Linked DNA regions of Homo sapiens: region 2 is linked to region 1. Evidence: promoter capture Hi-C in human tissues and cell types (Jung and others, 2019). All regions are on one chromosome and are shown on one strand. The core of a region is centred on a gene start or on the middle of the fragment in contact, and the rest is flanking DNA. Distances in the headings are between cores, read along the strand shown.

The links. The method cuts DNA at HindIII sites, captures the fragments that hold promoters and counts their contacts. A contact is called where the count stands out against the background at its distance.
Region 2: a contact is called between the fragment with the promoter of SAMD14 here and the fragment with the promoter of XYLT2 in region 1, in 2 of the 25 tissues and cell types used here (H1 embryonic stem cells and mesenchymal stem cells).

What each region holds. Positions count from the first base shown.
Region 1 is chr17:50,344,485-50,347,807 of GRCh38, reverse strand. It overlaps XYLT2 (xylosyltransferase 2), which reads right to left and starts at 1,682. Exons shown (of 11, transcript NM_022167.4): 1 at 1,533-1,682. The coding sequence starts at 1,667. RefSeq lists silencers at 266-560, 1,376-1,465, 1,536-1,635, 1,696-1,895. The HindIII fragment of the contact is 7,409 bases long and covers 1-3,323 here.
Region 2 is chr17:50,128,554-50,131,876 of GRCh38, reverse strand. It overlaps SAMD14 (sterile alpha motif domain containing 14), which reads left to right and starts at 1,717. Exons shown (of 10, transcript NM_001257359.2): 1 at 1,717-2,360. RefSeq lists silencers at 1,622-1,701, 1,942-2,001. The HindIII fragment of the contact is 12,261 bases long and covers 1-3,323 here.

The DNA.
Region 1 (3,323 bases), core at 433-2,932:
CCTGGCAACCCCAGAGTCAGGTGAGGGAGCAGCTGAGGGGGTCCAAGCAGCAATGGGTGCCTGGACCGCACAAGCTTTTTCAAACATTCCAGCCCAGGATTCCCCTATTCATTCAGCCAGGAAGCTGGAGGAGGAGGTGGTGGGGGATGGGGGCGGTAGCCCAGAGTGGTCACATATTCCAGGGTCAGAGGGCTCCCTAACTGCTTTGGCAGCCCATTCCATCTTGGAATGTCCCATCTGCCCAAACAGTCTTCTTACACTGGGCCTGAAACACTCTCCTACTTGCTTGTCCTACTTGTAGGTCTACACCCCACGGATGTCACGGAGCCAGCCCCACCCCCGCCCCCACCTCCTTTTGGAGTTATGGTCTCATGTGACTCTGTTCCAGCCCCCATCACCATCCCACCCTCTGGGTTCTCCCAAAAAAAGGCAAGGGCAGCTCTTCTGTCTCCACACCAGGCCTTCCAGACTGGCGAGATGCGGTAAGGGGTCGCGGGTATCGGGGCTTGCCGGAGGACAGCAGCAGATAGAGTCTCTGACCCGGAGCCCTGGAGGCAGCAGAACAGGGGCGCTGGGGGCAGGGAGGTCCTGACCTCTGGGCCACAGCTTAGGGCTGTGGTGTGGCCTGTCCTCTCCATCTCCGCAGCACGAACCCAGACCCAATGGACCCTTCCTCACCACACCGCTGAGGTGTCTGAGCCTCCCGCTGAAACCACATCGGGGAAGAGGGAGAAAGACCCTCGAGGCAGGGACTTGGGGGCTGAGACGGCTGTTGGTTGCCCCTGCTCTGCGGCTGGGGCTCTGTTACAGTCCCCATTCCCTTAAAGCCAGAGGGCCCCTCCCTAATTCCCTAAGGTCCTGAGGCCAACTCACCAGCTCAGTTCCTCCTCTCCCTGCCCTCCGGAGACCCATCCAGGTTCTTCAAACCCCCGGCTGAGGAAGCCACACCTCGGGAATACTCCAGTTCTCTCCTTCGGCGTCACTCCCTGTTCCTTCAGTTCCCGGGTACACACTTTGTCCCAGGCCTGAATTCCACCCCCGAGCTCCCCTTCCTCACCGGCCGCTGCCCCTCGGGCTCAGCTGGGGAAGGACGCCCTGAGTCCCTTGGCCCTACTCCTCCGCCCACGGCGCGCATATCCCCGCCCCCTCCCAACTTCAGAAAGTTTGGCCTGGGGCTCCCCACCTCCGAGCAGGTTCGGGCCCAGCCCCGCCTCCCAGCCCCGCTCGCCGCGCCTGACCTTCATCGCTCCCTTGGCCGGAGACCACCCTAGCATGACCTGCTCCCCCCGCCCGACTCCCAATCCACCAGGGCCCGGGTCTCCAGGTCACGCACTGCCCCCGCGCGCAGCTCCCTAGGCCTGCTGGGGAAGGGAGTGCCGGGGGCCGGATGCTCCGCTCTGGGCGACCGCCGGCGCCCCGCACGCACGCACGCGGCCCGTGCCCCACTTCCCCGGCTGGGGCCGCCCGCAGCCCCGCCAGGACCCCGCGCGCCCCCGCGCCCGGCCTGCCCGCCCGCCCGGCCGTCGGAGCACCTCGCCCGCCTCGTCCTCCTCCAGGCCGCTGAAGCTCCACACTACCAGGCCCTGCAGCAGCAGGATGGCCAGCGCCGTGGCAATCGCCAGCTTGTAGCGCCGCACCAGCTTCTGCACTCGCGCGCTCGCCACCATCTTCCTGCCCGGGACGCGGGGCGCGCGCCCAGCCCTGCAACCCGGCCGCGAGCGCGCGCACGGGCGCGGGGCTGAGCCGCCCCCCCTCCTCCACGCCTAGGGAGGCGGGCCGGGCGCGCGCCGGGGCGGGGCCGGGGGCGGGGCCTGCGGGGCCAAAGCACGGCGCACCGCAGGCTAGGGGTGGAGCCGGGGCTCGCAACACCTTCAGTCCCGGCAGTCGCGGGCGTGGGCTTGAGCGCGTGCCTTCTGCGCTCGTGTCTCCGCCGGTGCCCCTGGCTCCCACGTGTGCTCCCCTCCACCTGGACGGCGAGCGCCTGGTGCTGGGGAGTGGAGGGTCTGCGGCACAACCTCTCTTGCCTGGTGTCGGGGGTCGTGGGCGAGTTCAGTCCCACGCGGGTAAGCTCTCGGTCCCGGGGGCCCAGGGAACGCCAGGGCTCCCAGAGACGCCGCCTTGGGAGAGGGCGTGTGAGAGCCACAGGCGTCTGCTTAAAAACCTGGAGGCCGCACCTGCGGGGCAAAGTCTAACCCCTTGACTGGCATCAGAGAGCCTTCACGAATCCTCCTTTCCGCTCTGCGCTCATCCTAAGCATCCTCAGGCCGCTCCCAGAGTCGTGGTTCTCAAACTACTCTAGCGTGTGTTGGAGTCTCTTGGAGGTCTTGATAAAACAGATTTTTAGTGCCCCTCCTCCCTCCCCCAGAGTGTCTGCTTTGGTAGGTCGGTAGTGAGGCCTAAGCATTAGAATTTTCAGCAGGTTCCCAGGTGATGCTGATGCCTTTGCTCTGGGACCAAACTTGGAGAACCAGTAGACCTCGACACATGCTGCTCCCTCTGCCAAGTCCCCACCCCCTACACCATCAGTGGCATCCTCCCTGTGCGTCCCCAGCACTGTGCAGTGAGCACCAATCATACATCCGGTCGTGACTGCTCTGGGATCTCGCCCTGCCTTGGACACCCAGCAATGCTCAAGAAATGTTGCGGAAAGCAAGCAGGGGAGGCCCAGATTCCCGTCTAACCAGCTGTCCCTAACATTTGTTTGAGAACCCGGCGTGTTCAATGAGCACCGCATTGGACAAGGTCTAAGCACCTGCGGCCTTCCCTAAGCCTGGCAGGCCCATGGAGAGAGGGAAGGCGAGAAGAGCAAAACAGTGGCCACCAAAGCAAGGTGAATCCCCAGCTGGGGAAGCCAGGCACTGGGAGGAGGAAGTCATAAAAATAGCAAACACAAGTTAGAAGGTTTAAAGGGAAGACGTTAGGAACCACTACAGAGAGGTCTGGAAAGAGAAGTGGCTTACAAAAAAAAAAGTTTGAAAAGTTAGAAGGCCATGATGGAGGGGTTTGGAAGTTGCCACAAGGTTGGGTTGATGAGAGAATTCTAAACTGATGTGTACAGGATACACAAGCATTTGATGGTACATAAATAACCTCCTTTAATCGTCTTCTGCGCTTTAGCATTTGTAATCATTCTGTTCCTCCGCGTTTGTTAAATGGGAGAATTGTAAACTATGTTTCCGACGACAGTTTGGCTACTTAAGAGAGCCTACACTTCAATGATTTTGGAAAACATCAGTTGACATCCCGGCAATTGATATGTTAATTAAATATTGATCTTGTGTGCTCATTAAATCAGATCCTCTAGGGACTTCTACCTGCCAAGA
Region 2 (3,323 bases), core at 468-2,967, 220 kb after region 1:
CCACAGCTGTCAACAGAAACCCCACCCCTTCCCCAGATTTCCACAATCTAGCCTCATGGCTGCCAGAAGATTCTGAAGACACCCAGAGACCCCCAAACTCCTATAAATCCCCTAGGATACCCTCAGACCCTAAAGGCTGTTAATTCTGTCCTCACTCATAGTCACAAGATTGTCCTGGTTCAACAGGCCACTTCCCGGAGGCCTCGGACTGCAGAGTCCTGTGGGCCATCAGGGAACTCTGTCCTATAGACTCCACACCTCTCCTCTGACTCTAGACCCCTGATCCAGCTTCACCACTTGCCTTTTTTTTTTTTTTTTTTTTTTTTTTTTTTTTTTTTTTTTGAGATTTGAGTTTCACTCTGTTGGCCAGGCTGAAAGGCAGTGGCACAATCTCAGCTCACTCCAACCTCCACCTCCCAGGTTCAAGCAATTCTCATGCCTCAGCCTCCAGAGTAGCGCCACCATGCCTGACTAATTTTTGTATTTTTAGTAGAGACAAGGGTTTCACCATGTTGGCCAGGCTGGTCTCGAACTCCTGACCTCATGTAATCCACCCACCTTGGCCTCCCAAAGTGCTGGGATTACAGTCGTGAGCCACTGCGCCTGGCCTTTCACCACTTGCTCTTGAGCAAAGCACTTTCCTTCTTCTAAGTCTCTGTTTTCTCTGAGGCAGTGGGTAATGGAAACACCCACCTTGTGGGTTTATTGTGAGGGTGACAATAGATGATCTGAGAGCGCCTGGCACCTGCCAAGCTGTGACGTGCGGTAGCTGGTTGTGGATCCCTACATTGCCTCCCTGGCTGGCCTGCCACTACCATCAGCGCACTGGGTCCAAGTCTGATCTCATCCGTCCCCACCCCCACCTGCTCCAGGGCTTCCTGCCTCAAGCCAAGGTCCACAGCCATCCTAGACCCCTCCTCCCTCACCTCCTAGTCCAGCAGGTCCCCAAATCCTGTCAGCTTCTTCGGTGTCAGCTTCTTCAGGCCTGCATCCTGAAGGGCTCTCAGCTTAATCTGTAATCTTTATGCCCACTGCCACCGGCCCTCAATAGCCTCCAGCGGGTCTCCCTGCCTTCAGAGTGCCCTCTGTAACCCTGTCTCCAGGGGAGCCAAGGGTGCTTCCTAAATGCACACCTGAGCCCCTCCCTCCTCTTAATTTTGTGTGTGTGCGCGCGCGCGCGTGTGTGTGTGTGTGTGTGTGTGTGTGTGGGCGGCGGGGTGGGCGGCTGGTAGAATAAAGTGCAAGCCCCCTGCACCTCCCCAGCTTCAATTTATCTTCCCCTCTTGCCCTCCCACCCCCAACACCCCCTGGCACTTCCCTACCCTGGCCCGCAGTTGTAGCCAACACATCACATCCTCTGGGAATCCCCCAGCCCAGCTCCCGCCGCGGCCGCCTGGACCCAGGCCGGGCCAGGGGTGCGCTCTCCCTTCCGGCAAGAAGTGCCCTCTGTTAGCTGGGCCCATGGCGCCCAGGCTCGTGAGGGCCTCCCCACTCGTCTGAGCCCCCGACTGGCCCACTGGCCTTGAGCGCAGTTAGGGGGCGGGGGTTCTGTTCACCGCTGTCCCCTCCAGCCTCGGCGCCCCGGCTGCTCGGCGGACGTTTGTTGAATGAATGAACTAATCGGGAGCCCTGATGGACCCGGCAGAGGAGGCGGAAGCCCCGTGGGTCCCGTGGCGGGACCGCCCCGGAGCCGCTCCCACCCGCGCAGACTCCGGTGCGCCGCGTCTCCCGCGGGCAGAGAAGTAGCTGCAACTCCGCTCCCCGGCCCCAGCCGCCTCCTCCCCGCCGCCCTCCCCCGCCCCCGCCCCCTCGCTCCCTCCCGCTCTTTGTCTCCTGGGCGCCCGGCTTCTCCGCCACGCGCCCCCCACCCCGACGCCCCTTCCCCGGAGACCCCCGCGGACCCCTGCCGACGCGACGCCGCGCGAATCGGCCCTGCCAGGCGGGGGCCCCGCGTCCGGCCAGGCCTGGCGGGCGGCAGGGGCGGGGAGGGAGGTGGCGCTCGCTCTTCGCTCTTCTCTCTCTCTCTCTCTCTGTCACACACACACACACGCACACGCACACGCACACACACACGGAGCATCCTCCCGTCAGGTCTCCTGGTCCAGCCCCGCCCGCGCCTCCTGCTTCCAGCGAACCTGTTCCCTCTCCCCACATCCCCCGCCCTCCATCTCCCCCGGCTCTGGGACCCTTCCCGCCGACCTCACCCCCACCCCCGGGATGGAGCGGCTCGAGCCCGCCCGGAGCCCCCCGCGGCCGGGGTGACGGTCCCCCCACCCCTCTCCTGCCCGGCCCCCGCCTCGAGCACCATGGGCCTGAGGGGTTCCCGGGGCGCCAGACGCTGAAGATGACCGATGCCGGAGGTGAGGGGCCGGGCGCCCTGGGGTGGACCGGGAACTGGGGCTAGGGCCACTCGGGCCCGCGGTGGGACCCTGAGTGGGGTTGGGCAGGGCTAAGCGACAAGGGCCTTTCTTCCCCTATCCCTAGGGGGACCGCACGGGGCTGGGGTGCCGGGCTGTCAGGGGAGGGGGCGGAGATAGGATTTATGGCCCTAATCCCCTCCCTCCCGCCCGACGCCCGGAGAAATTAATAAAAAGCTGGTGTGGGGGGAGGGGGAGAGGGCTTAACTCTTTCTTGCCCGGCGGGGAGTTGTGCTGATGGTTTGGAGAGAAACTAGCCACCGGGCTCTGACTGGGGAGAAGGGCTCTGAGAGTGGAGTAGGTGCCCTGTCCCCAACCTCACCCCATCTCCAACAGTGCTTTGAGGGGGTGCCCGACTCCTGAGGACTACCCCAAGCCTGGGGCCAGTGGACGGCCGGCGATATGGGAAGGGGGGACCACCTCTCTGGCTCCACAACTGCCTCCCCGACCGCTAGTCTCCTTTCCCATCCACCTCTTCCCGGCCTCTCCCAGTTGCACTTCTCTCTGTCGCTTTCTCCTCTTCAGGGGCCCTTTCCTATCGCCTGCCCGAAGGGCTTCTCCCTTCTCTCCCACCCTCGGGCGTCACTTAGAGCGGCGGAAGCCCTTGTTCCCAGTGCCAGTTCCCGTGGCCCCACTCTCGGTGTGATCTCTTTCTTCTCAGCAGCCCTGTGGACTCTCCGCCAGTTTGTGTGTCTGTCTCTGCTTCTTCCTACTCCTCACTTCCTTCCGCTCCCGCTCCCGCTCCCTCCCCAGGAATTGTGCGCCCTTTCTTCCTTTCTCCTTCTCCTGGGTCCCAAGAGGCTGTGAGCTCACCTGCCTCCCTTTCTCCCAGAGAAGGGTCAAAGGTCATTGGTGCTCCTTCTCCAGGATTGGAAGCCTTGGGGGGAAGGGTATCCAGAGGAACCG